Regions from separate parts of the Homo sapiens genome. Here all the other regions are linked to region 1. The links are contacts of gene promoters, found by promoter capture Hi-C in blood cells and fetal thymus (Javierre and others, 2016). All regions are on one chromosome and are shown on one strand. The core of a region is centred on a gene start or on the middle of the fragment in contact, and the rest is flanking DNA. Distances in the headings are between cores, read along the strand shown.

Region 1 (3,074 bases), core at 389-2,888:
AATTACATGGTATTTAAGTTTGTAAAAATCTGCTTTAACACTAATTTTATTTATTGTATATTCCCGGTTTTTAATGGAGAAAGCAAACTTCTAGGTGCTAAAAACGTGTTCTAGACTTGAATAAAAAGATAGGTAGACTACGTCTAACCCTTCATCTTAAAATCTTTACCTGGAAAAGACCATGAGTAAAATACTTAAGGGAATGTGGAATTTCCCAGGCCACAAAGCGGCCTGCAGTTGTCTAGGAAGGGAGAGTCCTCTAGGAGATACAGTGTATGTGCTAAGTTTAATGACGTCTCCTCTTCATTCTCCCCCACCCAGCGCCTAGTCCTTACTGGCCTTCAGTTCAGTGTTCGAAGGCTTGTCAATTTACCCAGCAGTTAAGAGTTGGCTTCTCCTAAAGCAACTTTCAAACTTGTCTGCATGTTACAAGCCCCCTACGGAGATTTTAAGTTTCAATCAGGCAACACACCATTTATGGCTGACTGAGCACTGGGATTCAAGCAAAATTTGATTTGATTTGAATCTTGAATAAACCAGTTGAATAGAATAAGATGTATGAAGCAACATCTGGCGCAGTGCTTACATCTTTAGTTCTGTACTGCCTTAGTGTTGTTATCAAAACTGACGCATATTAGGTTAAAAGACTATTACCGGGGCAGTTGGAAACCCAGGAGACACACCCTTCAGTATACTACGAAGGTGTGCGCCACGAAAACAGAGGGGGAGTCCTTCCTTAGGCAGTTACTGCCCAGGTTCCCACTCCGGTCCGCTATGTAAATCAGAGTCTCAAAACAGCTTTCCCTCGATTGGTTAATATTTAAAATGACAGGACAGCCTATTGGCTAGAAGCTGGTGGCGAAATTATGACATTACGGCAACCGTTGATCCTGGCGACGTAGACAGGGACAGACAGCTGGGTCTGAAACCTAAGCGAGCCTGCGGTTTCTTCCGGGAACGCCGAGTTAGCAAAATGGCCGCTTGTCTCCATTTTAAATTTAAGCACAACGAATTGACCCCAAAGCCATTTTTAATGGCTGGCTTCTTTCGGGTTCAGGACCCTTTGTCCCTCTCTAAGCTGCAACACTTGTCCCCACCCCTCTCCAGTTCCTATATTCTAATACCCCTCCGCCGCCAAATAAAATTTGGCGTCTGGCCACAGCTCTTTTAGTGGGTATCTGGGTGGCTCTTAAAAGAGCCTTTGGGGTTAGGTGTTAAGACGCTTACTTGGAATGTTTACTTGGAGCTGGTGTACTTGGTGACGGCCTTGGTGCCCTCCGACACGGCGTGCTTGGCCAGCTCTCCGGGAAGCAGCAGGCGCACGGCCGTCTGGATCTCCCTGGAGGTGATGGTCGAGCGCTTGTTGTAATGCGCCAGGCGGGAAGCCTCGCCCGCGATGCGCTCAAATATGTCGTTAACGAAAGAATTCATGATGCCCATGGCCTTGGAAGAGATGCCAGTGTCGGGATGGACCTGTTTCAGCACCTTGTACACGTACACAGAGTAACTCTCCTTGCGGCTGCGCTTGCGCTTCTTGCCATCTTTCTTCTGCGCTTTGGTCACTGCCTTCTTGGAGCCCTTCTTCGGGGCGGGAGCAGACTTGGCTGGCTCAGGCATCTTAAAACACCAGAAATGTGTCGAAAGTAAAGAGCGGATTTCTGCTACTTATAGGGCTTTTATGCTAATGAGGGATGGAGAGTACCTCTTAGTTAATTGGAAGACAAACTGCACAGTTGTCATCCGTGGGCAGAGCTATGCAAATGAGGTATGAAAGTACAGCTTTTCTATTGGCTATCTGACTAGCATTTGCTACCGACCAATCAAAAAGTCGGATTTACTCCCCAGGAACTACCTATAAAAGCGGCCATGTTTTACATATTTCTTGATTTTGTTTGTTTTCTCGTGAGCTTAGGCCGCTGGTTTTGGTGATTTTTGTCTGATTGCAATGTCTGGACGTGGTAAGCAAGGAGGCAAAGCTCGCGCCAAAGCGAAATCCCGCTCTTCTCGCGCTGGTCTCCAGTTCCCGGTGGGCCGAGTGCACCGCCTGCTCCGTAAAGGCAACTACGCAGAGCGGGTTGGGGCAGGCGCGCCGGTGTACCTGGCGGCGGTGTTAGAGTACCTGACCGCCGAGATCCTGGAGCTGGCCGGCAACGCGGCTCGCGACAACAAGAAGACTCGCATCATCCCGCGCCACTTGCAGCTGGCCATCCGCAACGACGAGGAGCTCAACAAACTGCTAGGCCGGGTGACCATTGCTCAGGGCGGCGTCCTTCCTAACATCCAGGCCGTGCTTCTGCCTAAGAAGACCGAGAGTCACCACAAGGCCAAGGGCAAGTGATTTGACAGGTATCTGAGCTCCCGGAAACGCTATCAAACCCAAAGGCTCTTTTCAGAGCCCCCCTACCGTTTCAAAGGAAGAGCTAACCTCACTGCTTGTAGGTAGAAGGAAAAAAGGCACTAAGGTAAGTTAATTTTATGCCAACCTTGAGCAAAGCGTATTACTGCTTTTCGGTTTTTGGGGAGCGCTGTTACTAAAGGTTGGTCTGTTTGTATGTAATAGTAGGTCAGTTACGTACTATCATACTCTAAAGAAATATTCTAGTTAATGCTTTGTAAGATCGACCATAGTTAGTGCCTAACAGTTTACATGCAGGGATGCCTCGTGATCTAAACACTTCGTTGTGATTACTTTAAAAATGTAAATTGAAGGCAAAACTCTAACGTGTTGGTAACCTTGTTTGGTCCTCCGACTAGTCCCCCGTCTATTTTTTTCTCAATTTAGGCTGTAGGCAGCCTCACTTTCCTAATTCTGTGAGAGTTATAGGTCCCATTCCTGCTAAAGTGCAGAGTATATTACCTAAAAGTTAACCAGGGAGTTGAAAGGTGTCTGTAAAACAGACTAATGTCCCTAATGTAGAACGGTGCCTGACATGCAACTTACTCTTGTATTTTAAGAAGCTCAAGCGTCTAGGTTGCCATTACAGGCAGAAAAGGAAATAGAGTGGGGCCTGTGGCCACTCAAAAACCTTTGCTTTCTGCTCACCCCTCTAATCCTACCACTTTGGGAGGCCGAG
Region 2 (2,968 bases), core at 254-2,753, 1.0 Mb after region 1:
GGGGAATTTTAATTCCTGCTTTTAAGGGGGTAAAAGGGAACGGTCAAAGTGCCTTTCTTGTACCTACTCTTTTTAAAATTGCCTGTATCTCAGAATAATTCTTATTCCAAAATGGCATATTTTGGGATGGCATGCTCTGCCACCTTTTACCATTCATTGCTATCCTTGTCACTAATTGCTATGCGAAAACTCATGAAATCAGATACAGAAAAAGGCTTCTGATTAGTGAGAAGCTCAAGTAGAGAAATATACTTGTTAACTAATGTTGGGGAAATACAATTTTAAAATCTTCTCCCAAAGAAGACAAAGGAAATAATTTTATTATTGAATAAGCATTAAACCAGGGAGAGTTGCTTATCACAGGAAACCTTATGAAGAGGTTGCAAAAGCAGAAAGAAATCTTGCTTATTATGTATGGCTACATTGGATAGGTTTTGCAATTCGAAGTCAGGTGACAGCTAAAGTTCAGCCCATTTTCTCGCTGGAAACTGGGAGACAGACCACTATCTTTTTTAATGATTAACATTTCAAAGGGATGGCTCTCCAGGCATTGAGAAAATATTCTGAGTTATAAGGCCTATTTAGCCATTAAAAGGATTTACATACATTTTAAAAGGACAGAGAAAGACATTTTGAAAGTGATGGGAAAGGAAAGGGAAGTCTTTTGTTTTCAACAGATAATTAAGCCTCTCATTTTTAATTTGTATTTACCCTTAGATTAACGTATTCAATTAACCTATGCTACCTTACCCTCTTTACAACATATACTGAATTCAGCTACAGCAAGTTACAGCCAGTCATATCAATTTTTTTTTGTTTTCCAAAGGTGTATGGCAAGTTTTCTTTTATTGCAACATAAATGCAAAAATTTCTAAAGTATTTTAATGAAAAGTTTATCTTCATTTACTTTATGACATTTAAGTGGAATACTTTGAAAATACTTCAAGCACTGCTGTAAGGTACTCATTAAAATAAAGAGTAGCAAGAAAATCACCAAATGGGCCGGGTGCGGTGGCTCATATATTCAGTATATGATAATAAGTTCCTCAAATCAGTGGGGGAAATAGTTAATGTATTGTGCTGACTAACCAACTGATTAACTTTTTGAAAAGTTATTTCTATATACAAGAAATCAAGTCCTTATTAGTAAAGTTAGATTACTTTAAATGGTTCTACCCAGCATTAGTTAAGGTTGTAGGCATATCAGGAACTGCTACTGGTGCAGGGGCCAAGAGAAAACCTCCCTTTTGGCCTCTGAAAGTTCACTGAAAATCAACTGACAAGATTAATAAGAGAAAAGGCATACAAATTTATTAAGGTACAGGGCTGAGGACCACAGAATATTACCCCAACCCCCCAGTGGGGTACAGAAGCTTATATACTCTTTCTCAGAGGCAAAAGAGGAGATGGGTAATGTAGACAATTCTTTGAGGAACAGTAAATGATTATTAGAGAGAAGGAATGGACCAAGGAGACAGAAATTAACTTGTAAATGATTCTCTTTGGAATCTGAATGAGATCAAGAGGCCAGCTTTAGCTTGTGGAAAAGTCCATCTAGGTATGGTTGCATTCTCGTCTTCTTTTCTGCAGTAGATAATGAGGTAACCGAAGGCAATTGTGCTTCTTTTGATAAGAAGCTTTCTTGGTCATATCAGGAAATTCCAGAGAAAGTCCCTCCCTGTATTTGGGGAAGAGAAACAGGACAAAGTTAGAGGGACCTTGATTCTTAGACTTGTTTCTGAGAACCCTCAATTTTCAAAAACACCCACCATTACCAAGCTCGATATTTGGGGGGATAATTCTCCACCCCAAACACTAGAAATGAAAATAAGTAGAAAAGAACTTAGCAATATACCTGAACGATCTTTAAATTCTATGAGTCTATCTTGTTCTATTGCTAGGAATTTAGCATATGGAGTATATTTCCATTGTATATTAAGGAGAAAAATGCCACAAAATAGCATAGTTCCATACAAATAATGTTAAAGGAAAACATGCATATATGCAGAGATAACATTCTTTTTGCTTTATGTATCTTCTATAATGTTAACATTTTTGTTATGAGGCAGGAATCATGTTAAATGAAAAAAGGAAAAACAGCCTAGGTCTTGAGGATTAAAAAGGACTGAAGGAGAACAAGAGGGAGTAGAGCACAGCAGGCCTGTTTCCCTTTTAGGTCCCCTCCCCCAATGCAGAGGGACTTCCCGCCAAAGCTCTTCCGGTTTTCAGTCTGGTCCGCAGAGGTTACCCATAAAAGAAAGCTGCCATCACAGGCAGCAGACCTTTGTTCTCTGACCACTTGATAATGTCAGGACGCGGCAAAGGAGGTAAGGGCCTGGGGAAAGGGGGTGCCAAGCGCCACCGCAAGGTGCTGCGCGACAACATCCAGGGTATCACCAAGCCAGCCATTCGGCGCCTTGCTCGCCGCGGCGGCGTGAAGCGCATTTCTGGCCTCATCTATGAGGAGACCCGCGGAGTGTTGAAGGTGTTCCTGGAGAACGTGATCCGGGACGCCGTGACCTACACGGAGCACGCCAAGCGCAAGACGGTCACCGCCATGGACGTGGTCTACGCGCTCAAGCGCCAGGGCCGCACCCTCTATGGCTTCGGCGGCTAAATGGCATTTTGAAGCCCAGTCATTCTCTAAAAAGGCCCTTTTTAGGGCCCCTAAGCTTTCAACAAAAGAGTTGAAATGACTGCAAACTGAGTCTCTTAATAGGGCCATTGTCAGTGAGTTCTGTCATCCTATTTTACAAGATTAACTCGACGCCGAAAATGGGCTGATGACTACAGGTGACCTTGGGCCGAGATTTTTCCAAGGCCAGAAGAGCCTCTGCTGGCCAGTAACTTCTGGCGGCTGCCTGGAAATTGCCTGCAGCCGGTTTACCGCTCGGATTAGTTTAGAAAGCCAAGGGGTCTGCGGTCCAAATAGGGGCGGGCTAGATAATTAACTTCCCTCTGGACCTTC
Region 3 (3,221 bases), core at 375-2,874, 1.0 Mb after region 1:
ATCAAATAGAATTTTATTTAATAATACAGGAGAAAGAGGAAAATATTGCTGGAACTATGCCCTTGAAAGAAAGAGGGCTTTTAATTATTTCTTACAGAAAATTTAGAAATTCAGAAGTAGAAGAGTGCATGGCATTGGTAAAGGTAGAACTGGTAGGTTCAACTGTGCCAGCCTGTCTCTTATTCTTCCCAGAATCACTGTAGTGAATGTGTCAGATGAAATCTTCAAAATGGCCTTCCAAAATAAGCACAAGGAAAGAGGCCTTTTTCTAGGCCTATGACATCAAAGATACAGCTTTTCCCTCTTTTTATGGAGAAGCACATGCAGATCAACCCAATTTCCAAAAACATCCCAGCAGAAAATGCTGAAAAGCACTTTCATTCACAGCAGCTTTCTAAATGGGGTTGGGGAAGGCCCTAAGCAAAGGAAAAGGAAAGATCTAACTCAAAGAGACTTGAGACAGAGGCAGCTTGCATTTCCTTCTTACTGGCTGCATTTTCTTTGATGGAGCTCATGTCTTTGAGACTGAGAAAGCCCTTAGGTCACTTCCCTGATCAAACAAATTAATGTTAGGGCTGGGTGCGGTGGCTCATGCCTGTAATCCCAGCACTTTGGGTGGCGGAGGTGGGCGGATCATAAGGTCAGGAGATCGAGATCATCCTGTCTGAAACAGTGAAAACCCGTCTCTACTAAAAATACAAAAAATTAGCCAGTCGTGGTGTCACGCGCCTGTAGTCCCAGCTGCTCAAGAGGCTGAGGCAGGAGAATCACTTGAACCCAGGAGGCGGAGGTTGCAGTGAGCCAAGATCGCACCACTGCCCTCCAGCCTGGGCGACAGAGCGAGACTCCATCTCAAAAAATAAAATAAAATAAAATAATAATAATAATAATAATAATAATAATAATAATAACAATGATGCTAGGAAACAGGTAATTCTTCATTCAGTAAACCTATTAGTAATTAGAATACTTTTGTGTAATCCAGACAGAGGAAAGGAGATAAAGAAAATTTTAGGAAATTAAGCACATTATTTTGGCTCTGCTGAGAAGCTTTATTATGGATAGCTGCAGGGGTAATTTTGAACTCCCTTCATTTTTAAATTTATTATTATTATTTTAGAGGGAGGATCTTGCTCTGTAGCCCAGGCTGCAGTGCAGAGGCACAATCATAGCTCACTGCAACCTCAAACTCCTGGATTCAAGTGATCCTCCTGCCTCAGCCTCCCTTGTAATGGGGACTACAGGCATGCACCTCTGTGCCTGGTTAAATTTTTTTATTTTTTTTGTAGAGACAGGGTCTCACTATGTTGCCCAAACTTGATTCAAATTCATGGCCTCAAGCAATACTCCTGTCTTGACCTCCCAACCTTTCTTTAAATTATTACCAATCTTTTCCCATCAAAGGTCAAAAGGCAAGCCTGCTGAACTAGGCCAGATGCTGCTGGGAGAAGTTGCTTTCATAGAGCTTTGGATGGTAGTCTCTGCCCACCCATTCATTCATTCTGCAGCCAAACTATATTGATAAAGAACCTACCAAATGGGGAGCCCTAGTGATAGATTATTGAACAAAATAGATATTCCTCGTCTTGGGGCATATGGAGCGGGAGGATGGAGGCTGACATTAATCAAATAACTCTGGTATTATACATTACAAACTGATATAAGAGCACTAAAGGAAAAGTGAAAAAGAATCAAGTGGCCGGGCATGATGGCTCACGCCTGTAATCCCAGCACTTTGGGAGCCCGAGGCGGGTGGATCACTTGAAGTCAGGAGTTATAGATCAGCCTGGCCAACATGGTGAAACCCCCTCTCTAATAAAAATACAAAAATTAGCCCTGCGTAGTAGCTTACGCCTGTAATCCCAGCTACTCGGGAGGCTGAGGCAGGAGAATCGCTTGAACCCGGGAGGTGGAGGTTGCAATGAGTCGAGATTGTGTCATTGCCCTCCAGCCTGGGCAACAGAGCGAGACTCTGAGAAAAAAAAAAAGAAGAAGAAAGAGAAAGAAAGAAAGAAAAGGAAGGAAGGAAGAAAGAGAATGAGAGAGAGAGAAAGAAAGAAGGAAGGAAAGAAGAAAAGAAAAGAAAGAGAGAGGGAAGGAGGGAGGGAGAGAGGAAGGAAGGAAGGAGGGAAAGAAGGGAGGGAAGGAAAAAAAAAAAACCAAGGAACCATGTGTTGCGTGGAGACGGGAGGTCAAGAAAAGCTTCCTTGATTTGAAAAGCTTTCTTGAGTTGAAGCTGAAGCATTAAACAAATTTAACCAGGTAAAGAGAAGAGGCCGGGCGCGGTGGCTCACTCCTGTAATCCTAGCGCTTTGGGAAGCCGAGAGGGGCGGATCAGTTGAGTTCAGGAGTTTAAGACCAGAATGATTTTACAGAAAGAAAATCATTTGGTATCAAGGGGAAAACACGACCAGGACCTTGACTCTAGAGGCTACGTTCCTAAAACAGCAAGCGGGGCAGGAGGGAAGTCCCACGGAGCTTTGGAGCCACAGGAGAGGCACTTTTATCTCCCTCTTCTGGCAAACTAGGTATGAAAGGGAGAAAGAAATTTCACTCTGAGGTGCGAGCGCCGCCGGACATTTCCTGACGGCTCAGGTGGGCAGGCTGAGTGCGCGAGCGCCTCACTGGCTTCTCATAGGTACCTGGGTCAGGACGAAGCCACATAGTTCCTCGTGATGAGAAACTCACTTCTGGCACCTGTCGAGATGCCAGATTCCATGCCAAGCCCCCGAAGATTCTGACTAGTTTGGCAAAAAATGGGATCTGGCAGGTCCACTTCAAAGCAGCGCCCTCTTCCTTTTGTTGCCAAAGATCTGAGGACCACACTGCTAAACTGAGCAAGAAACATGCGTGGGTTGGAGATAGAAGTGAGAATAATGAGTTTACAAGCACAGTATTACCAACCCCCAAAAACAACCACCACGCTGGGAAAATTCCATATAATGAAACTTAATGTGTTACCTTTGGCTTCTTTGCCATAAGCAAAATATTGGGGACGGGGAGTGGATAAGGAAGTAAACTGGGTAGGTGTGTAAATAAGGACGAAAGACTGCACCATTCTTTAGATGACAAAAACAGACGTTTCTGGGAAATAAGCAAAGGAAGAGCCCCACAAGCAGCGGCCTCTGGTGGCGTGCCGTGATCGTATAGTGGTTAGTACTCTGCGTTGTGGCCGCAGCAACCTCGGTTCGAATCCGAGTCACGGCAGTACCTTGATGTCG

What was found. The method cuts DNA at HindIII sites, captures the fragments that hold promoters and counts their contacts. A CHiCAGO score of 5 or more calls a contact.
Region 2: a fragment that was not itself captured here is called in contact with the fragment with the promoter of H2BC4 in region 1 in 2 of 17 cell types (total CD4 T cells and monocytes); the score reaches 6.0 in total CD4 T cells.
Region 3: a contact is called between a fragment that was not itself captured here and the fragment with the promoter of H2BC4 in region 1, in 6 of 17 cell types (total CD4 T cells, non-activated CD4 T cells, total B cells and 3 more). The highest score is 9.4, in total CD4 T cells.

The regions. Positions count from the first base shown.
Region 1 is chr6:26,122,288-26,125,361 of GRCh38, forward strand. It overlaps H2BC4 (H2B clustered histone 4), which reads right to left and starts at 1,639. Exons shown (of 1, transcript NM_003526.3): 1 at 1,180-1,639. The coding sequence starts at 1,617. The coding sequence ends at 1,237. It overlaps H2AC6 (H2A clustered histone 6), which reads left to right and starts at 1,885. Exons shown (of 1, transcript NM_003512.4): 1 at 1,885-2,403. The coding sequence starts at 1,946. The coding sequence ends at 2,338. RefSeq lists enhancers at 1-430, 431-1,116, 564-1,763, 812-1,551, 1,795-2,994 and 4 more and a silencer at 1,423-1,788. The HindIII fragment of the contact is 15,442 bases long and covers 1-3,074 here.
Region 2 is chr6:27,137,004-27,139,971 of GRCh38, forward strand. It overlaps H4C9 (H4 clustered histone 9), which reads left to right and starts at 2,279. Exons shown (of 1, transcript NM_003495.3): 1 at 2,279-2,675. The coding sequence starts at 2,306. The coding sequence ends at 2,617. It also overlaps a transcript of H2BC12 not described here. RefSeq lists enhancers at 2,093-2,472, 2,235-2,827, 2,828-2,968. The HindIII fragment of the contact is 264 bases long and covers 1,372-1,635 here.
Region 3 is chr6:27,154,992-27,158,212 of GRCh38, forward strand. It overlaps TRH-GTG1-5 (tRNA-His (anticodon GTG) 1-5), which reads left to right and starts at 3,136; the gene lies at 3,136-3,207. The HindIII fragment of the contact is 1,152 bases long and covers 1,049-2,200 here.